Linked DNA regions of Homo sapiens: all the other regions are linked to region 1. The links are contacts of gene promoters, found by promoter capture Hi-C in blood cells and fetal thymus (Javierre and others, 2016). All regions are on one chromosome and are shown on one strand. The core of a region is centred on a gene start or on the middle of the fragment in contact, and the rest is flanking DNA. Distances in the headings are between cores, read along the strand shown. Region 1 holds the start of COPS2 (COP9 signalosome subunit 2). Region 2 holds the start of AP4E1 (adaptor related protein complex 4 subunit epsilon 1). Region 3 holds the start of SPPL2A (signal peptide peptidase like 2A). Region 4 holds the start of MIR4712 (microRNA 4712). Region 5 overlaps GABPB1 (GA binding protein transcription factor subunit beta 1). Region 6 overlaps GABPB1 (GA binding protein transcription factor subunit beta 1). Region 7 holds the start of SLC27A2 (solute carrier family 27 member 2).

Region 1 (2,990 bases), core at 274-2,773:
AAATTAACTCTTTTACTTATAATAAAGGTACAGATGTGCTGATTAGTCATGCTAACATGTACATATGAAATATGCCTAAACCAAATTAAAAGAAAACAAAATACAGTCTATGGCAATCTTGAAAATTCAGGGAGCTCAATAAATATTAAGAGGATGCTCTCACAATGAGAGCATTAAACACTTGGTAATTAACATAATTTAATATGCAAAAATAAGAAAATATACAGGATGAGGGATGAGGAGTACACATAGGAAATTTTTGTGATTTTCTTCATTTTGATTGTATTGCTTTCTTGTCTTCAGGAGGGAAGATTTTGACTTCAAAAGTAACAAAATATTTAAGAAGGGAATTCACATCTTTCTGTTCTAAATGATATTCTTGCGCTATTTTCTCAGCAGTTCATGTTTCTGGATAAAGTTTATGATTATTGAAAAGTGTCAATGCTTCTACAGTGGAAATTTTGCCTTTGGGAATGCTCTTAATATTTATCATATCAAAGTGATGGCCTTTCGGCAATCTGAATTTCTTTGGCTCCTGACGTGTTTCAGCAGCTTTCAGCTGCACGGAAGACACAGGATCTTTGGAATCAACACACACATATTTTAGAAATGACAGCAGCTTGTCATCTTTACGAGCAATCTCTCCCTTAATTTCTGGATAGAGACTAATCTGCTCTGGCAGGAGGCTGCTGGTAGAGGGGTGCCTGGGAGCGAGAGAGGGCTTCATGTTGCGGATTTCCCTTTCCGCTCGGTTCTCTTGAAATTCCTGATCCCGCGAGTCACCGCAGCCCCCATCTCCTTACAACATGATGCCCTCAGGTTCACAGTAATGTATTTTTTAAAAACCAGTCGTTGTTACCTTAATTTGGTCCCAAGGGCTGTAAAGGTCAGTTTACAACTCGTTGAACAACTGAGTAAGATTTAAGGCAACTCAACTGATAGCTGCATACCTAATTTAGGATATCCATAGAATTGTTTTGTCAACTACAAATATAACAAGCATTAAGTGTAAACTGTGTTGCTGAAAAGTACTCCAAGTATCTTAGGAACACCCACCGCAATGTGTGGGCTAAATGCACACGTACAATGATAGCAGAAATAATACCTGTCATATAGGACGGGCATGTCAGCCTTTTCTCCGCGAAAGGCTTCTGGTCCTAAGCTGTCCCTTACTTTCACCGGAATGAGATGCGTCCAGAGTCCCAAGCAAGGGAGGAGACTGCTCCTTTACCCAGGAGGCTGGAAACTGCTCGATGCGAGCGCAGTTTCCGACGCCCTTCGGCTGAGACCTGCAGCACCGGACGATGTCCCAGTTGCCAGCTTTAGTTGCTAAGGCACCAACCACTTCGGAGGAAACGGGGGGTGGTGCAGTCTCTTTTGGAGTCGTAGCGAATCAGCTACAAGTCGAGATAATTAGTTCCGGCAGGAAACAGCTCCTCTAAGAGGGACTGGAAGGCGGAAAGAAGCTGAGAGTGACGCCTCTGAGCCGCGGAGGATTGTGGGAGGAGGTTGTCTCCAATTTCTCCTCCCCCTCCCGGCCAAGATGTCTGACATGGAGGATGATTTCATGTGCGATGATGAGGAGGACTACGACCTGGTGAGGCGCAGGGAATGGAACTCTGAGGGTGGTGATGTGTCTTGTTTTCGGGGTCCGGGCCGGGGCGCCCGCGGCCTCTCCCCGTAGAGCATGTGCCGTTTACAGCCTCTCTCAGTGCGGTGACAGGACTGGTTTACCTCCTCCCCGTTCCCGCACCGGGCCCGGGCCCTGCTTCTCCAGCATGGGGGAAGGGAGGGCAAAGGAGGCAGCGAAGGGGGCCCCGGGCCTTGCCCTCCGAGTCTGAGCGCCTCTTCGGTTTACACGGATGCCCCTGGTCCCAGGCGTTCGGTTCTCTGTCTTCTGCCTCCCCACCGCGCTAGCCGCCTCGGTGACCATGCTGCGGTGTAGGCCCTGGCTTTGCCCTTTCGGGCCCAGCGTTCCGGGCCCCCACTTCTTCACACTGGAACTGAGCGGGTGCGAAATGCTAGGAGAAGTCAGAAAACGGGGGTGTCCTTACTGCTCCCAGGCCTGACTGCGAAACGCAACTTGTGAGTCTCCTGGAGACATAGCTTAAATAGTCTTGCCAGGGCCAGTTTTGGTCCGAGGTAAGTGTGTAGGGGAGAGTTCAGAGCAAAGATAACTGAAAAAAAGGTAGTCGAACCACTTTTTCAGTTCTTTATAAAGAAAAGCTGGGGAGGAGGTTTTGCTTGTGGTGTTTTTGGAGGACGGGTGAAAGATAATTGAACCCATGGCTTTTCCCTTAGAAATTTCCCAGTATACAAAGTTTAAAACAGCAACAGCATAGAAATAAACGAATTTTTCTGACCGAATGGAGATTTTTAAAGATTCAAAGCTTCATTTATTAATGGATTTGCAAGTTTGAATAACGTTTGCTATTCAAAAACATCGTGTGGAAACTCAGAAAATTATCTTGATCCAGAATTAACGTCAATTTTGCTGTGTTTCTTTATTTTGGGGGTGTTTCATATGGTTCTTTTATGGTGATGCTGCATTATCATAAAGTTACGAAATAGATGTTTTGGGACGTCTGACTCATTTTAAGTGCCAGAGATTGTCAAAATATTAATACATTGTTTTGAATTAGTCTATAACTTTTTCGTATATATTTTCAGTTTTTTGCATTTTAAAATAAGGCACACTTTGCAAAAGGGAGAAAGGAAATTCTCGCTATTATTTGAAAGTCATAGTAGAGATTTTTATAATTTTTAAAGTTAAATGTAGTTTCGCTAATAGTTATGGTTTCTACCTTACATTTTAGTTTGTGCAAGCCAGTTGTAGGCAGTGACTTCAGTTCATTAAGAATATGTATCTGTCCATTTTTACTTATTACCTGTTTATTTATATTACAGGTGTTTTGTTATCAAAATGTTTCTTTTATATGTGCTTGTATTTTTTTAATTGATTCATAGTATTTTGTACATATTTATGGGGG
Region 2 (2,990 bases), core at 139-2,638, 1.8 Mb before region 1:
ACGCTCCAGTGAGCCAAGATCGCACCATCGCACTCCAGCCTGGGCGACAGAGCGAGACTCCGTCATTAAAAATTTAAAAATTTTAAGGCCGGGCAGGGTAGCTCACGCACGTAATCCCAACACTTTGGGACGCCAAGGCGGGCGGATCGCGAGGTCAGGAGATCGAGACCATCCTCGCTAACACGGTGAAACCCCGTCTCTACGAAAAGTACAAAAAATTAGCCAGGCAGTGGCGGGCACTTGTAGTCCCAGCTACTCGGGAAGCTGAGGCAGGAGAATGGCGTGAACCCGGAAGGCGGAGCTTGTAGTGAGCCCAGATCGCGCCACTGCACTCCAGCCTGCGCGACAGAGCGAGACTCCGTCTCAAAAAAAAACAAAAATTAAAATTTTTAAAACCTTAAGGCTCCAGCGAGCCGAGATCGAGATCGCACCATTGCACTCCAGCCTGGGCGACAGAGAGAGACTCCGTCAATAAAAATTTAAAAATTTTAAAAGTTTAAGAATTTTTATAACTGCTCATTTTCAAAGCCCACTTGAGGCAGAGACTTAGCAAATTTTACATTTTGAGAGAACTGTGCTTTTTCTTTGCCCAACACGTTGTTGTAACCCAAGAACCTCAAGCTCCCCAAAGATATTCAACAAGAGGCTCACAGGATCTCTTCAGGTATGCGACATCTGAACTGTTGTTCAGTTGAAGGCACCGGGGGAGAGAAGGAAACTGAGTAGGGAAAAAAAACTTTGTGGAAGGTAAATAATGTCTGACACTTCCATCGCACTAGGTATTTTCACACGCTTGACATCTCACCCAATCCTCAAAACAAACAAAAAACCTATGAATTATGTATCAGTACTTTTCCACCACAACGTTGAGAAAACACACGGAGGCTCAGAGGTTACAGAGATGTGCCCCCGATCAAAGAGTCAGTGTCAGAACTAACTGTGGAAACTCGGCTTCCCTGCTGTCAGTCCCAGCAGGAAAGTGAAGCTTCCAGGCAGACGAAAGGACGAACCGACACAGCAGCCCCTGAGCCCCGCCGGAGGGCTAACCCCAGAGGCCCTGAAGTCTCGCCGCCCGGCCAGGGCCTCCTGGCGCGGGGGCCTCACTCCGATGTCCCTGAGCTCCCGGGCCGGCGGGCACCTACGTGCTTGGAGGTGAGGGCTGTGATGCCGCGGACAAGGCTGCCCAGCCTCGAGGAGAAGGACGCCTTGGCGGCCGCGGGCCCACCACCGGGCTGGTTCTGCAGAAAGAGTCCCGGCAGCGCCGTCAGCGTCTTCTCCACTATGTCGCTCATCGCCGCCGCCGCCCGCGATGCCGCCGCCGCCCGCGATCCCGTAGCCGCCCGGCTTCATGCCCGGCCGCCGCTGCCGGCCCGGCCTCCGTAGGCACTTCCTGTTTTTTGAATAAGAAATCTTTATTGGCGTCCCACCTGAACAAGTTCAGCGTCGTTCTCGCGAGAGGCCACCAGAGGGCGCAAGAGACCGCGGGGGTGGAAAAGGCCGCTCGCTCGAGATTGCGCGCGTAAGTAGACCTCCTTTCTCGCGACGGGGTAGCGGTTCCGGAATCCCCCAGAACCGTGAGTCCTCCTGAGGAAGCCGTCGGGGGCCTGGCCCTGTTAGGCACTGTCTCCCAGAGTCCCCCTTTCCCACTAGCCGCCTCCGCGTAGCCCGAGACCGCGTCAGGAGTTGCGTCTTCCTGGCTGCGCCTTTTTCGGGACGTCCCCGCGCCGTCCGCCGCCTCTCACTGTCCCCGGAGCGCGCGCCACCCGCCCGCTTCCCACAGGCGGTTTCACGCGGGTCCCCGGCGCCGCGCGCGGCTCCGGCCCTGGCGACTCTTGGGACACCCGAGTAGTTGCGTGATAGCGGGGCTGTCCTGAGGATTCGGCGTGCCAGGTTGAGAGCCCGTCGCGTGCCGGGGACTCGCGGCCACTGTCGCTTCCCGTCCGCCCCTCTTCTCCTGGGATTTGGGGAGGTGGGCGGGAAAGAGAACTGGTCGGCGGCCACCCTTGCCGACTCCTCCTCAGCAGGTCGCAGTTGAAAGGTCATCCTTCTAGAGCCCACTCCCCTGGCCCGGCGGGCAAGGATAGGTCTCCAAGTCCCACCCTCTCACAGCGCTCGGTTCTGTTCCACTTTAGAACAGGTCGCAGTTGCCACTACGTAAACAGCTCCCCATAGAGAGAGTATTTTATTCATTCCGATTGCTCCGTCTTTTATCTAGAACAGAGTCTGGTACAATGGCTCTCGAAATGTGGTCTGGTGACCTCAGGGTCGCTGAGACCCTTCTAGGGAATTCACAAAGTCAAAACAACATTGATAACGTTTCTTACGTGTTATTTGCCGTTTTTACCCTCATTCTGTTGGAAATGTACAGAGTTTTCAAGCGGCTAGATGACGATTGACTAGCTGGTAAAATGTATCCTGGAGTATCCTTGTGTTTTCTAGAATTTTCTAAGGTAGTAGGTTTAGGGCATAAATACGTGCGTTTTCAGAGATTAATGCAATTTGCTCTCAGTACTCCTAGTGTGTTTCTAGGAGGTAGGTTAGGTAGGTGGTGATAGCCTCCCTTCAAGGGGAACAAACTTGCTAAATAAATAGAACAAACCAGCCCATAGTGTACAAACCACATCCGAGGCTCCTGGTTAGAAAATTTTGCAGCAAAGAGGTACGAGAGCAGAAGGGAAAATCCCCAAACTCTCACAAGCGCAGAAACCCATGATCAGTGTCGTTGGGCTGAATTATACTCATTATAATAGTAAAAAAAAAAAAAAAAAAAAAACACCACTCCTGGGTGAAGATTTAAGATACTAATAAGACATGCAGTGTATGTACTAGCATATACAACCACAGCGCACATGGCGACAGAAAACCAGAGAACGTGCTTAATAGCAGCACCCGTTCTCCCCGCTTCATGAATGATCCTGTGAGACTCCTACAAAGGGAGTTTCCCCAGTGTCAGTGCATGCTGTCTCACCTTTGAGCAGCCCGCTCTGATC
Region 3 (2,990 bases), core at 147-2,646, 1.6 Mb before region 1:
CCAACACTTTGGGAGGCCAAAGCGGGTGGATCACCTGAGGTCGAGAGTTTGAGACCAGCCTGACCAACATGGTGAAACCCCGTCTCTACTAAAAATACAAAATTAGCCGGGTGTGGTGGCACGCGCCTGTAATCCCAGCTACTGGGGAGGCTGAGGCAGGAGAATTGCTTGAACCTGGGAGGCGGAGGTTGCAGTGTGCCGAGATTGCACCATCGCACTCCGGCCTGGGCAAGAAAAGCGAAACTCCGTCTCAAAAAAAAAAAAAAAAAAAAAAGAGAAAGGAAAAGAAAAGAAAGTGACTGGACAGGTACTTTAGATTGGGTATGTCAGGAAGTCCCGTCTGGGGAAGCGACATTGAAGCTGATAAGTGAATGTCAACAAGGCAGGCATTCTGAGCTTTGGAGAGAAGAGCACTCCAGCAGGGAGGACTACCAGAGCAAAGTCCGGGCGGCCCACCAGAGCAAAGGCCGGGAGGGCCAAAGGTCCGTGCGCCTTAAAGTGTGGGAAAGTAGTGAAGATGGGGAGACAGGAAGGCAGGGGCCAGATTTACCTTTGCAGGCTAGAGTAGAGTTTTGATTTTTTTTTTTTTTTTTTTTTGGAGACCGAGTCTCGCTCTGTCGCCCAGGTTGGAGTGCAGTGGCACAATCTCGGCTCACTGCAACCTCCGCCTACCCGGTTCAAGCGATTCTACTGCCTCCGCCTCCCGAGTAGCTGGGACGACAGGTGCGTGCCACCACGCCCAGCTAATTTTTTGTATTTTTAGTACAGACTTGGTTCCACCATGTTGGCCAGGATGGTCTCGATTTCTTGACCTTGTGATCCGCCCACCTCGGCCATCCAAATGCTGGTATTACAGGTGTGAGCCATCACACCCGGCCAAGTTTTTATTTTATTCCAAGTGTGATAGAGAGAGACATGATCTGACTTATATGTTTTGAAAGATGGCTCTGGGACTGTTATGTGGCTACTGGGCTGTCCGGAGGGGAAACTGAGACCCGTTTGGAGGAGAGGGAAGTTGGTGGCCTGGATAGAGTGGTGGCAGCAGTTCTGGAGAAAGTGGATGGATCTGGGTTATGTGGTGAGTCAGAGTGGCCAGGAACAAATGACAGGCAGATGAATTAGGGTGACCCTTAGATTTCTGGCTGCATGCAACACTCGGGTAGTTACTGGGGAACCGAGCAGACGCTCAGACACTTCCGAGCCTTGAGAAATCCGTTCTCCCGCCAGGCTTCGGTGTGAGTTAAAGTCGGGCAGCCGGAAAGCGACAGGCTCAGACCCGCAGCCGGTGGCCTCGTAGCGCCGGGACGCCGGGACGCCTGGATACCGGGAGAGCGCTGGGACTCTCCGAGCCCGGCGCGGGGGTTTCCGCATCTTACGGGCGGGGCCGGAAGAGGAAGTCGCGCTGCTGTGGCGGCCGCTGTAGCAGCGGCGGTCCAGTCGTAGCCCGGCCGCCCGCGCCTGTCCGGTCCGGTCCGGCCACGGAGGCAGCGCAGCGGCGGGACTCCGAGCCTACCCCGCCGAGTGAGCTGCGCCGCACCGTGCCGTCCCACCCGGCACCCACCAGTCCGATGGGGCCGCAGCGGCGGCTGTCCCCTGCCGGGGCCGCCCTACTCTGGGGCTTCCTGCTCCAGCTGGTAAGGGGGCGGGAAGGCGCGCAGGCCTCCCAGGGGCTGGGCGGGGCCGGGGCCAAGGCCGGGGCTCCCTTCCCCTACTCCTCGCCCGGCCTCCCCTCTGCCCGCACCTCCGCGGCCTGCTCTCGCACTCCTCTTTCCTCCCCTCCTCTTTCCATTACTCATCTCTTTCCTTCCACCCTCCTCTTTTCCACCCTCTTTCCCCCAACTTTCCCGCCCCCCACTCGGTTCCCGCCCATTGAAGTCTGGCGAAATACCTACCGCAAAAAGATCAGAGGAGCCCCTTAGGTTGCGTTGACCTTGATGCTTCTCGATAGTTGCTCACTGTCCCAGCATATTTAAAATTGACCTCTGGGTTTTATTGTCTAAGCCTTTCTTACCGCTTTTTACCCTTGGGAAGAAAAAAAAATTATACAAGGCGCCAGTATGTTTAGCGGTTCGAGGACTGCACTTTAATTGCACTAACACGGATGTCTTTTTAAAATTCCCTTCCCCCACTGTAGCTCCTGCTTCGCCTTAGGGCTCATTTGATTCTGTTATGAGGGTTTTTTTTTTTTGGAGGGGGGGTTTTAATAGCAGTAATTTAAAATAACTTTTAAAAGAAGACACCAAAATGTAATGCTTTTAGTGGTTTTCAGTTTTCTGCCTAATTTAAAGGGATGGGTGGGGAGCGTCGGTTAAATGTAAGTAAGAAATATGTGTTCATAGATTTGTTTTCATAGTCACAGAGAAGTAATAGTGTTTTAAAATTCAGCCTCAAGTAATTCGAGCTTCAGTGTGGGAGTGGGGTGTCAGGAACCCGGTGTTTCAGTTTTTGTTTCTAGTGACTTTTACTTAGGGAGTTTCAGGTTGGAAACTTACGCATGTTATTTATTACAGAATTGGTGTCGTGTAAGCTTGTTTCGTTCTATTAGAATGTGTGATTTCTTTGAAAGACTGTTTTGCTGACTCTCCAGTTTAAGGGGTTAGTATTAGTGAATACAAAAGTGTCTTTAATATTTATTGAAAAACCAAAATCTAAGCCAAAAAGTAAGTGCCTTTTGGTGTATTCATAACTTTGACAGGCAACATCAGGAACCTGAGAGAATGTATCTAAAAATTGCTGGGGGAGGGGAGTTCGATATAAAAAGAGCAACAAAGTAGCAGTGTTAGTCGGAGTCTTTAAGGTGTTTACTGTGTAATCAGACAGATAATACTTATGTCCAAAAGATATTCAGATAGTATGTAGATGTATGCAAAACTATAACCTAGATATAAAACTTTTCAAAGTGTTTTTGCATTCATTTTCATTTGAATCTCTTGAGCTGATTTTAAGAATGAATATCACATTCGTACTAATCCCTTCTCAACATAAATTAA
Region 4 (2,990 bases), core at 287-2,786, 1.2 Mb before region 1:
CCCAGCACTTTGGGAGGCTGAGGTGGGAGGATCACTTGAGCTCAGGAGTTTGAGAATAGCCTGGGCAACGTGGCAAAACACAGTCTCTACAAAACATACAAAAATGAGCTGGGCGTGGTGGTGTGCACCTGTAGTCCCAGCTACTCAGGAGGCTGAGGTGGGAGGATCGCTTGAGCCCAGGTTGAGGCTGCAGTGAGCTGAGATCACATCACGGCCTTCCAGCCTGCATGGGCGACAAGGTGAGACCTTATTCCCTCCACCTCCCCAAAAGATGAAATGAATTCATTTGTTTGATGCTATTAGAATACCAGTAACTCCCCTTACTTTGGCCCCAAATTCACAAATGAACCCTCCAAAAGGTAATGCAGTTAACTTCATGCATTCTCTTTAAACAATGTACTGAGTCTTTATGCCAGGGAATTTGGAATTAACAGATACAGTACAGGTCTCTCATTTCAAAGTAGTATTCCTAATCATGAAGGAAATGAGAGACCTGTACTGGAATCCTGTCTTTAACACCTTTGAGGATGGTGAATTTAGGTAAGTTATTCAACCTATTTTAGCCTCGGTTTCTTCATTGGAAAAATGGGGCAAACAATACTTATTTTACAGAGTTGTGAGGATTAAATGAGACAATATATATAATATGCTTTGCACAGTGGCTGGCATACAGGAAACGTTTAATATATGGTAGCTACTATAAACTCGGTTATTTCCGTGTAGCTTTCCATGTCTACATGGAGGGAGAAAATGAGCAGATGTCCATTATAATTTAGCTATTACAGTTTTCACTCTAAAGTAAAAAAGGCATTTAGATTTATATGTCTTCTGGGAGTTTGGTTCTTCTGACTCCCTTCATCTGTGAGACCATAGGTACTTTTATGTAATATGATAAAAATTATTAGAAAAAGAAAAAAACGGCCGGGTGCAGTGGCTCACACCTGTAATCCCAGCGCTTTGGGAGGCCAAGGCAGGTAGATCACCTGAGGTTGGGAGTTCGAGACCAGCCTGACCAACATGGAGAAACCCGTCTCTACTAAAAATACAAAATTAGCAGGGTATGGTGGTGCATGCTTGTAATCCCAGCTACTTGGGAGGCTGAGGTAGGAGTATCGCTTCAACTCAGGAGGCAGAGGTTGCGGTGAGCCAAGATCGCACCATTGCACTCCAGCCTGGGCAATAAGAGCGAAACTCTGTCTCAAAAAAGAAAAAAATAAACTAAAAAGGAAAAAAGGGCCGGGCACGGTGGCTTACGCCTGTAATCCCAGCACTTTGGGAGGCTGAGGCAGGCGGATCACAAGGTCAGGCAATGAAGACCATCCTGGCCAACATGGTGAAACCCCGTCTCTACTGAAAATACAAAAATTAGCTGGATGTGGTGGTGCACACCTGTAATCCCAGCTATTTGGGAGGCTGAGGCAGGAGAATCGCTTGAACCCAGGAGGCAGAGGTTGCAGTGAGCCGAGACTGCACCACTGCACTCCAGCCTGGCGACAGAAAAAGACTCCCATCTCGAACACAAAAAACAAACAAAAAAAGGGAAATAAAGAATATGCAAAGTACAATCCCTCAAATTTTTATTAGACCCACAGAAATAAAATTAGTCTGTTAAACTGCTATAAGTTTCTAAATTCTTACTTTCTGTAAATGCCTTGACATGGATGTGTAACAAAGGGCTTACAGACTGGCACTGCCTTGTGGACCACACTTTTGGTGAGACTGCTCTAGAGCGCTGACAAAAATCAGACTTTGAATCCACAGGGCTGAAGTCAAAGCAACTGAAGGGTGTCCTGACTCACCAGCTGGCCACCTAGTGGCCTCCTTCTAGTCATAAGCACAACCTTGTGTCACTCCTTAGTTCAAAAACCATCCATTATTCTGCCTGACTCAAGGGTAAAATCTCAGTCCTTTAATCTGACATCCAAGGCCTTCCAGAGCTGGTTCTAAACAACTTTTTAAGTCTGACTTTCCACTATCCTCTACTTCACTAGACTGCATTGTCCAATATGGTAATAACTTGTCCCACTTGAAATGCAGAAGTGAAATGAGGCTAATTTAGGAACTGAATTCATAATCCTAACTTTAATTTAAAATAAAATTTAAAAATATACACGATTCGATTACCGTAAAACTTTTAAGTATGCTTGGAACGACTTGGGTACGTGAATCTATTTTTTCAGCTGGAAATTTTATGAAATCAAGTACTGAGATATGCTATAAGTATAAAATACACACCAGATTTCAAATGCTTAGTTATGAGAAAGATAATGTAAAATATTTTTAATATTTAGTAATTTTTTATGTTGATCACATGTGAAATAATATTTGGATATGCTAGGGGTTAAAAGTGTAATTAAAATTAATTCCACCTAGACAACATGCCCCAAACCTAGGCATCACTATTGATTCCTCCCTTTCCTCATTTAATTGGTAAGCAAGATAGGTCAGCTTTTTGGATCCATCCACTTCCCTCATCTCTACTGCTACTATCCTAGTCCATGATACTCCATTTCTTTTTTTTTTTTTTTTTTTTTTGAGACGGAGTCTCGCTCTGTCGCCCAGGCTGGAGTGCAGTGGCACGATCTCGGCTCACTGCAAGCCCTGCCTCCTGGGTTCACGCCATTATCCTGCCTCAGCCTCCCGAGTAGCTGGGACTACAGGCGCCCGCCACCACGCCTGGCTAATTTTTAAAAAAATTTTTTATTTTGAATAGAGACGGGGTTTCACCATGTTAGCCAGGATGGTCTCCATCTCCTGACCTCTTGATCCTCCCACCTCGGCCTCCCAAAGTGCTGGGATTACAGGCGTGAGCCACCGCGCCCGGCCAGATACTCCATTTCTTAAATCCTTCAATGGCTTCCAGTGCACTTCACCTTCTTATTGAGGCTGAAGACTTCACCTCCTATCATTCCTTCTTTTGGTCACTAGATTTCGGATACACTGACCTTGCTATTCCCTAAACACAACAAATTTTTCACCTTAGGGCCTTT
Region 5 (2,990 bases), core at 263-2,762, 1.2 Mb before region 1:
AATTGTTTTTTTATTGTTTAGTAGAGACGGGGTTTCACCATGTTGGCCAGGCTGGTCTCAAACTCCTGACCTCAGGTGATCCACCCACCTCAGCCTCCCAAAGTGCTGGGATTACAGGCGTGAGCCACCATACCTGGCTCTTGGCTAATTTTTAAAAATTTTTGGAGAGATTAGGGTTTCACCATGTTGTTCAGTCTGGTCTCAAACTCCTGGGCTTGAACGATCTTCCCACCTTGGCTTTCCAAAATGCTGGGATTATGGGCATGAACCACCATGTCTGGCCTAGATGAAGTTTTTCTAAAAGAATCCACTTGGCTAGGCATGGTGGCTCATGCCTTTTGGCACTTTGGGAGGCCGAGGTGGGTGGATCACCTGATGTCAGGGGTTCGAGACTAGCCTGGCCAACATGGTGAAACGCTGCCTCTACTAAAAATACAAAATTAGCTGGGCGTGGTGGTGGGCGCCTATATTCCCAGCTACTTGAGAGGCTGAGGCAGGAGAATCGCTTGAACCTGGGAGGCAGAGGTTGCAGTGAGCTGAGATCGTGCCATTGCACTCCAGCCTGGGCGACAGAGCCAGACTCTGTCTTAAAAAAAAAAAAACAAAAAAAACCCTTATATCTTATTTTAAAATGTTATGACTTCTTGCATATTCTGAAGTTAGTGGCTTCAAGAAGTTTGACCAGGCCGGGCGCAGTGGCTCACGCCTGTAATCCCAGCACTTTGGGAGGCCGAGGCAGGCAGATCACGAGGTTAGGAGATCGAGACCATCCTGGCTAACAGGGTGATACCCCATCTCTACTAAAAATACAAAAAATTAGCTGGGCGTGCTGGTGTGCACCTGTAATCCCAGCTACTCAGGAGGCTGAGGCAGGAGAATGGTGTGAACCCCGGAGGCGGAGCTTGCAGTGAGCCAAGATCGTGCCACTGCACTCCAGCTTGGGCGACAGAGCGAGACTCCATCTCAAGAAAAAAAAACAAAAAAAAAAGTTTGACCAGTGATTCTAGAACAGCTCTCTCCAGTAGAAATATAGTGAACCACAGATGATGATGATTTTTTTTTTTTGTCATTGATTGCTCCATTCTACATCAGCAGAAACAGAACCAGACAGGGAGTGACGAGATTTGCACCTGGGTCACACAGCTGATCTGTGGCAGAGGTGGGGTCTCAACTTCTGGCTTTTAGCCGTGCCTTTTTTTTTTTTTTTTTTGGCATAACATCATATTGCCTTAGTGCCCTCAAAATATTATTTGTCCAGTTTGTAGTTACTGACTATTGGAGGCCAAGTCTTGATCTAGGCCCACTTACCATGGGGTACACTTGTCCCTCTTCCTCATGGAAACAATTTCATCCTGACACTCTCAAAGCACATTTCATCCTGTACTGACTTCACCTTTTTTAAATCACAAAATTTACTTAGAAAGGACCTGACATTTAGAGTCAGAAAGGAACACACATTACTGAACACCTTCCTTGGGCATGGTATTTTCAGGGAGCTATGCATGTCTGGTGGGGCCAGCCCTCTAAAAAGTGGAGACAAGAAACAACCTACTCATAATCCCACAGTCTCCCCAAGGAGCCAGAGATTCTTGGGTCTAGCTAACCTCCTTTATTTTCTTAACAGCAAGTACTATAACCTTAACTTGTGCCCATAGAAAGAACTACAGAGGCCAGGCGGGGTGGCTCACACCTGTAATCCTAGCACTTTGGGAGGCCAAGGCGGGCGAATTGCCTGAGGTCAGGAGTTTGAGACCAGTCTAGCCAACATGGTGAAACCCCATCTCTACTAAAAATACAAAAAAATTAGCTGGGCGTGGTGGCATGCGCCTGTAATCCGAGCTACTTGGGAGGCTGAGGCAGGGGAATTGCTTGAACTCGGGAGGCGGAGGTTGCAGTGAGCCGAGATTGCCCCACTGCACTCCAGCCTGGGCGACAGAGTGAGACTCTGTCTCAAAAAAAAAAAAAAAAAAAAAAGCCACGGAGACATTGGGAGCATTCAGGGCATTGGATCACTGGAGGGGCTTCAAAGCCAGGGGAGCCCACCTTTGAGGCTGAATTTCTCACCTACTAGCTTTGGGACCTTGGTCAGGTGACTTTTCCAAACCTTGGTTTTCCCATCTGTAAAGTGAGTATAGGCAGTACAGCCCCTCTCTAGGACTGTGTGTAGGGAGATGGTGCTTGGTCACACAGCACTCAACGAATGCAGGTCGTTAACAGTGGGAGACAATAGTAACTCAGATTTATTGAGCACTTACTGTTGGCCTGGCGCTTGCCATCAATGAACTCATTAAAAAAAATTTTTTTTTTTTTTGAGATGAGGTCTTATTCTGTAGTCTAGACTGGAATGCAGTGGTGCAATCACAGCTCACTGCAGCCTTGACCTCGCTGGGCTCAGGTGATCCTCCCATCTCAGCCTTCTGAGTAGCTGGGACCACAGGTGTGTGCCACCCGCCCAGCTAATTTTTATGTATTTTTTGTAGAGATAGAGTTTTGCCATGTTGCCTAGGCAGGTCTCCAACTCCAGGGTTCGAGCAATCCACCCATCTTGGCTTCCCAAAGTGCTAGGATTACAGGCATGAGCACCACACCCAGCCATTTTTTTAAATTTAAATTTTATTTATTTATTTATGAATTAATTAATTAATGACAGGATCTGACTCTGTTGCCCAGGCTGGAGTGCAGTGGCACAGTCATGGCTCACTGAAGCCTCAAACTTCTGGGCTTAAGCGATCCTCCCGCCCCAGCCTCCTGAGTAGCTGTAGCTGGGACTACAGGAAGACAGGACCACATACAGCTAATTTTTTATTTTATTTTAGGGAAAGGTGCTATCTCTCTGTGTGTTGCCCAGGCTGGTCTTGAGCTTCTGGGCTCAAGGGATGCTCCTGCCTCAGCCTCCCCAAATACTGGAAGCAACTGTGCCTGGCTAATTGCCTCTAATCCTCAGAACAACCCTGTGAGAGAGGTTGTGCTATTACTCTCATTTTACAGGT
Region 6 (2,990 bases), core at 336-2,835, 1.1 Mb before region 1:
TTTTAGATACTCGTTTCTCCTCTCCCAGGATTTTGCTGCTTTACCTAAGAGGGGGACTTGGGATATAAATATATACCCATGATGTGCCCCTACACTGTCAGTGGACCTTAGACAAATATTTCCACTTGTACTATGTGATTCTTCTTAGAGAATACTCCTTTATATGTGTTTGTATTATATGGAGAATTTGTGCTATATGTTCTGGTTATAATTCTGAAAACACTGTGGTCATTTTTTCCCTAGATTGCTATGCAGAACCAAATCAACACAAACCCAGAGAGTCCTGACACTGTGACAATACATGCTGCAACACCACAGTTTATCATTGGACCTGGAGGGGTGGTGAACCTAACAGGTCTGGTATCTTCAGAAAATTCATCCAAGGCAACAGGTATTGAGATGCATATAGGATAGGCTTTGGGATTTTATGCTTTAGTAGGTATTCATCCTTGTAAGAAAGGACGGTTGGAGAATGAGGGTAAGATTCTATCAGCCACCTTTGTTTTCTTTGGTATAACTGGCAAAAAGATTTTTATGAGACAAAACAATCTGAAGAAAGGTGATATTACAAAATTTACTGCAGTATTACCTTTCAAAAGCTAATGCTATCCAAGCTTTGTTTAAGAGTCAGTAAGATAAATAGAATATCAGAAATATGCATTGGATTAAGCTCCTTAGAAATTCAAATCTATTTTCTTTTTTCTTACAGATGAAACGGGTGTATCTGCTGTTCAGTTTGGAAACTCTTCTACATCAGTATTAGCTACATTAGCTGCCTTAGCTGAAGCATCTGCTCCATTGTCCAATTCTTCAGAAACTCCAGGTTAGAAAAACGAGTCTAATGTGTACATTAAAATTGCAGATTCAGGCTGGGTGCCGTGGCTCACACCTGTAATCCTAGCACTTTGGGAGGGCGAGGCGGGTGGATTGCCTGAGCTCAGGAGTTTGAGACCAGCCTGGACAACATAGTGAAACTCTGTTTCTACTAAAAATACAGAAAATTAGCCAGGCGTGGTGGCACATGGCCTGTAATCCCAGCTACTCGGGAGGCTGAGGCAGGAGGATTGCTTGAACCCGGGAGGTGAAGGCTGCAGTGAGCTGAGTTTGTGCCACTGCACTCCAGCCTGGGTGATAGAGCAAGACTCTGTCTCAAAAAAAAAAAAAAAAAAAAAAAACCAAAAACAGTTGCAGATTCAAATATTTACAAAGGCCAGGAAGACAATAAAAGGCTAAAGTGGGCAGGATTGAGATTACACCCGGCTGAAGAATGGGGCAAGGGCAGGGAGGCATCTGTGACTCAACTCTAGCTGATTATAGTCATCAGTCCAGTATTCCCAAATTCTGTTTTTTAATAGGAAGCTGTGAATCTGGATTTTAAAAGAACATTAAATCTTGGTAACTAATTGAAAAACAAAACTTGTGTGGCTCACAGAAAAAAATGTCCCTGTCTCTAATTTGGCTCTTGATTTACTAGTTTGTGACTTTTTGTTTAAACAACTCACTTTGGCTGGGCATGGTAGCTCACACCTGTAATCCTAACACTTTGAGAGGCCAAGATAGGTGGATTGCTTGAGCCCAGAACCCTGGGCAACATGGTGAAACCCTATCTCTACCAAAAAATATAAAAATTAGTCAGGTGTGGTGGTCCACTCCTGTGGTCCCAGCTGCTCAGGAGGCTGAGGTCAGAGGATCGCTTGAACCTGGGAGGCAGAGGTTGCCATGAGCCAAGATCATGCCACTGCATTCCAGCCTAGGCGACTGAATGAGACCCTGCCTCAAAAAAAAAACCCAAAACCAAAAAACACTTTTTTCATAAATTTTAATTTTTAGCAGCTCTACTAGAGTGTTATAAAATCTTAATGACTGATAGAACTAGGAAATAGTATACAGAAACCACTGTTAAAGGGTTACCTGGCTGGGTGCGGTGGCTTGCTCCTGTAAGCCCAGCACTTTGGGAGGCTGAGGCGGGTGGATCACCTGAGGTCAGGAGTTCGAGACCAGCCTGACCAATATGGAGAAATCCCGTCTCTGCTAAAAATACAAAATTAGCCAGGCGTAGTGGCCCATGCCTGTAATCCCAGCTACTCGGGAGGCTGAGGCAGGAGAATGGCTTGAACCCGGGAGGTGGAGGTTGCGGTGAGCCGAGATCACGCCATTGCACTCCAGCCTGGGCAACAAGAGCAAAACTCTGTCTCAAAAAGAAATGAAAGGGTTACCTGTTGTTAAATGATGACAAACAGTATTCATGAACATTTGGTTTATACAAGATTTACCTTTATACTTAACCAAAATACTTCTTGATGTAATTATTATGTCGGTAAAATTTAATTAGGAAATTTTTTAAATTCCAAGAAAATATTTTTCTGTAGCTTAAGCCATTATATTTGGTTCAGTGCTTATAAAAGCAAAGAATAATTTGTCATTCATTTTTTAAATTAGTGTTTTTTCAAAATTTGATCAATAATAACAACATTTCATCAAATGCTTACTCTCTCTGCTAGGCACTGTGATAAATATTTTACTTATAATCTCATTTATTCCTCACCAGAAAGCTTTAAGGTGGATATTACTGTAATATTCTTGACTTGGAGGAGTTGGGGGAATGCTACCTTTTTCTTTTCTCTTTTTCTTTTCTTTTCTCTTTCTTTTTTTTTTTTTTTGACATGGAGTCTCATTTTGTCACACAGGCTGGAGTACAGTGGTACAGTTTTGGCTCACTGCAGCCTCCATCTCCCAGGTTCAAGCAGTTCTCCTGCCTCAGCCTCCCCAGTAGCTGGGATTACAGGCATGCACCACCACACCCAGCTATTTTTTGTATTTTTAGTAGGGACGGGGTTTCACCATGTTGGCCAAGCTGGTCTCGAACTCCTCACCTCAGTGATCTGCCTTCCTCGGCCTCCCAAGGTGCTAGGATTACAGGCATGAGCCACTGTGCCCAGCCTCTTTTTGAAAATAACATTTATCCATTCTTTAGCTTCTGTAGCATTATA
Region 7 (2,990 bases), core at 186-2,685, 1.0 Mb before region 1:
TCACTTAAGTTACTGTTTCAAGTCTGGCTGAAATGTGGCAGGAGCTAACCACAGAACTGAAAGGGTCACTATTGTGATAGATGCAGTGGGGGCTCACAACGGTCCTGTAGCAGATCCCCAGTATCTTCTCCCTGGGGATCAGGTGGGGTCACCTTTGTTCTGCAGGGAGGGGACAGGATGCTAACAGCAGTTGAGAGCTGGAAGCAACATTGAAGCCTGCCTCATTAGAGAGGAGCAAACCAAGGGACAGAGAGGAGAAGTGACTTTCCCATGATCACACAGCCAGTCAAGCAGCAGAGGTGAGAAGAGCCCCTCTGGATCCACTAGAGTTCGCACTCAAGATCCTCTGCATTTTAATGCAGATGTTATAAGTATTGATTAAGAGCTTGGAATTTGGAGATAGATGGCTGGGCATGAGGCTTCACCTCTCAGGACCTCAGTGGTCTCATCTATAAAAGTCCTATAACAAAGCCTACCCATTGTGAGGATTAAAAACCACACTGCCTGTAGAGTGCTTAACACAGAACCTAGCACATTATCAGCTTCCACAACAGGTGGTCCTAAAAGATCATTATTTGCGATTCAAGGAAACACTGCCAACCTTTTTCTATACCTACAGTTCCGATCTGAACCTCCCTCTGCGAACCCCTTATGCCACGCTGTGGCTCGTCAGTCAAGGCGCCGAGAAGCCCTGGTGCCAGGGCAGGGCGATCCTCGGGGCTCACCTGGCGACACCAGCAGCACCTTCGCCCCGCAGCACTGGAAGCAGTGCAGCAGGGACTTCGCGCGGATGTTGTAATTGAGGCACGCCATGGCACAGCCCAGCTTCACCAGCCCCAGCCACAGCCACACGTAGGCCGGCTCGTTACCCATAAGGAGCGCCACGCAGTCTCCCTGGCGCAGGCCGAGGTGGTCGTGCAGCGCCCGGGCCACTTGATTGCTGCGCCGGTCCACCTGCGCGTAGGTGAGAGTCTCGTCGCGGAAGAGCAGAAAAGGCTTGTGTGGCGTCTGGCGCGCTTTCTCCAGGAACGCCCGCAGGATGGTGCGCGCCGGCCGCCGCTTCCCGTAGCTGCGCACCCTCCGGCCCACGGCGGCCACCTTCAAGAAGTAGCCTATGTCCTGGAAGAAGTATGGGCAGCAGAGGTTCACCAGGAGCGGCAGGAACAGCAGTCCCGCCAGGACTGTGTAGATGGCGGAAAGCATGACGGCTGCGGGGCCCTCTGTCCCAGCGAGGGCAGAGGGTTCACCCCGGGCGTGCAGCGCGGCGACTGGGCGGGCTCCGGGCGGACTGGCGGGCTGCGCCGGGGCGCACGCGGCGGGACGCCGGGCTCGCGTGAGATGAAGGGGAAGACAGAGCTCCTCCGCTGCAGGTACCGCCGCGGGCTCCGGAGCAGGTGTAGTCGTATGCGCGTTGCCGGGGGTTCCGGGCAGGACTGGCCGGCTGAGCCCGCCCCCTTGTGGGGGGCAGCCACCTGCTCTCCCGGCCCTCCCACGCGGTCCTCCCGGGGCTGGGCAGGCTGCCCTGCGGCTCACCAGGAGCCTCGGCCACTTCCCAGCTCGAGTCTGGAGGTCTGGGGTCAAGTCTGGACCTCCTCGCGTTGTGACCGAAGTACTTTACCTCTAGGAGCCACGGTTTCTTTAAATGGTGATGAGACGCGCTTAGCGGACGTTGGGAATATTAAAGGAGATATTGCAGGCGTGGGGCTATTATTTGTTACCACTAATAGAATGGCTTATGGAGATGACACTGTTATTACCGATAAAGTGCCTTATAAATGTCAGACAGTCCTATTATTTATTAATAGCGGGTACCAGGTGCCACTGCCAAACCAGAATCTCATCTCTCCTTCCTGGTCCCAAGGGCTTTCCGCCTGGTCTCTCTTTGTTTCTCAGATTTGCTTCCCAGCCCGACTGCCAGGCGGTCTCCTGTAGCGAAGGCTTCAAGGTTGAACAGAAATGCCTGTGGCAGTCACGTCCAGCTCATCCCAAGCCCTGCCAGGTGAGTGAGGGCAGGACACTCTAACCTAGTCGGCCCTGCCTGGTCGGGGGAGTCCTGATTTCGTGAAGAGCAGTGCTACACCGCACCACCTGAAATCAAGCTTTGACATTATTTTACGATTTTGTTCTGTTAAGTGATCCTGCTGTTCCCTCATGTTGAAAGTTGTCAAGTGTTGTCAGCACAGTTCACACATTTAATAAGTGGCTCTGTCAGAGAATAGTATAGTACAGAGGACATTGAGTAAGTGGTATTGGCATGACTCAAAAACCATTTCTTTTAGAGGAAATGTGAACCTTTCTTTTAATTTGCCTTAGTGCTACTTCTGTACGAAGTGAATGCTCACTACTTGCCACTGAGGAGGGTCAGGATCTAAGTAGTGTTTTATTTTCATCCTCTACTGTCCTCCTGTGTTCCTCTATCTTAATTTGATACGATAAATACAGATAATGCTTATTCCTCCCAGACACGCTGCTAGGAGCTTCCCTATGTTACATTTTGGGAGCCTGAGTTATTTTATACAGGTGGCACTTTCATGCTCATTTACAGACAAGAAAGGGAAGCTTAGGTGAATTGAGACAGCCGGTAAGTAATTCGTGGGTTTTGGAAATGGTATCTGTTTGGTCCCGGGGAACCAACTCTTAGCTTATTCTTAGTAACTATACTATGCTGTCCTCCTATTCTCTAGGTTTCTGTCCATGTCCTCTTTTTTTTTCGGTGTGTGTAAAACACACAAAAATGTTTCACATTCCCTCCAGGCCACCCCCTGCCGTTTTTTAGCCTCCTTTTCGTATCCCTAGTAACTGCGCAAGCAACCTTTCCCTTTTCCTGACTTTTTCATTTCTGATCCAGCTACCTGGTTGCATCATTTCCCTGGGGATGAGCTGGGGGCCTTCATCATCCCTGAGGAGAAAGCAGTAGAATTAACCAAAGTGAGGGCCCGACAGAAACCATTCTCATGTGCACTTCTTTCATGGTGAAGCTCAGAGCCAGC

What was found. The method cuts DNA at HindIII sites, captures the fragments that hold promoters and counts their contacts. A CHiCAGO score of 5 or more calls a contact.
Region 2: the fragment with the promoter of AP4E1 here is called in contact with the fragment with the promoter of COPS2 in region 1 in 3 of 17 cell types (naive CD8 T cells, total B cells and fetal thymus); the score reaches 6.3 in naive CD8 T cells.
Region 3: the fragment with the promoter of SPPL2A here is called in contact with the fragment with the promoter of COPS2 in region 1 in 2 of 17 cell types (activated CD4 T cells and total B cells); the score reaches 6.1 in activated CD4 T cells.
Region 4: a contact is called between a fragment that was not itself captured here and the fragment with the promoter of COPS2 in region 1, in 2 of 17 cell types (fetal thymus and total CD4 T cells). The highest score is 8.8, in fetal thymus.
Region 5: a contact is called between a fragment that was not itself captured here and the fragment with the promoter of COPS2 in region 1, in 1 of 17 cell types (naive CD8 T cells). The highest score is 5.2, in naive CD8 T cells.
Region 6: a contact is called between a fragment that was not itself captured here and the fragment with the promoter of COPS2 in region 1, in 3 of 17 cell types (total B cells, M0 macrophages and naive B cells). The highest score is 7.2, in total B cells.
Region 7: a contact is called between the fragment with the promoter of SLC27A2 here and the fragment with the promoter of COPS2 in region 1, in 1 of 17 cell types (erythroblasts). The highest score is 5.3, in erythroblasts.

The regions. Positions count from the first base shown.
Region 1 is chr15:49,154,132-49,157,121 of GRCh38, reverse strand. It overlaps COPS2 (COP9 signalosome subunit 2), which reads left to right and starts at 1,523. Exons shown (of 13, transcript NM_004236.4): 1 at 1,523-1,597. The coding sequence starts at 1,544. It also overlaps a transcript of GALK2 not described here and the pseudogene NDUFAF4P1. RefSeq lists enhancers at 571-1,489, 1,248-1,777. The HindIII fragment of the contact is 2,527 bases long and covers 1-2,392 here.
Region 2 is chr15:50,907,081-50,910,070 of GRCh38, reverse strand. AP4E1 (adaptor related protein complex 4 subunit epsilon 1) reads right to left here and starts at 1,388. Exons shown (of 21, transcript NM_007347.5): 1 at 1,143-1,388. The coding sequence starts at 1,292. RefSeq lists enhancers at 312-1,053, 1,100-1,269, 1,290-1,579, 1,054-1,795. The HindIII fragment of the contact is 3,809 bases long and covers 988-2,990 here.
Region 3 is chr15:50,764,112-50,767,101 of GRCh38, reverse strand. SPPL2A (signal peptide peptidase like 2A) reads left to right here and starts at 1,396. Exons shown (of 15, transcript NM_032802.4): 1 at 1,396-1,634. The coding sequence starts at 1,569. RefSeq lists a silencer at 1,362-1,821. The HindIII fragment of the contact is 3,596 bases long and covers 1-2,529 here.
Region 4 is chr15:50,357,850-50,360,839 of GRCh38, reverse strand. It overlaps GABPB1-AS1 (GABPB1 antisense RNA 1), which reads right to left. Exons shown (of 1, transcript NR_024490.1): 1 at 2,528-2,990. It overlaps MIR4712 (microRNA 4712), which reads right to left and starts at 511; the gene lies at 430-511. The HindIII fragment of the contact is 6,184 bases long and covers 1-2,990 here.
Region 5 is chr15:50,323,525-50,326,514 of GRCh38, reverse strand. All of the region lies in intron 1 of GABPB1 (GA binding protein transcription factor subunit beta 1), which reads left to right. Among named protein-coding and RNA genes, the nearest start is that of GABPB1-AS1, 29 kb to the left of the region's middle. The HindIII fragment of the contact is 8,148 bases long and covers 1-2,990 here.
Region 6 is chr15:50,298,622-50,301,611 of GRCh38, reverse strand. GABPB1 (GA binding protein transcription factor subunit beta 1) reads left to right here. Exons shown (of 9, transcript NM_016654.5): 5 at 244-355; 6 at 710-823. Among named protein-coding and RNA genes, the nearest start is that of HDC, 34 kb to the right of the region's middle. The HindIII fragment of the contact is 1,938 bases long and covers 617-2,554 here.
Region 7 is chr15:50,180,641-50,183,630 of GRCh38, reverse strand. It overlaps SLC27A2 (solute carrier family 27 member 2), which reads right to left and starts at 1,435. Exons shown (of 10, transcript NM_003645.4): 1 at 726-1,435. The coding sequence starts at 1,203. It also overlaps a transcript of ATP8B4 not described here. RefSeq lists silencers at 834-933, 1,204-1,543. The HindIII fragment of the contact is 4,085 bases long and covers 1-2,101 here.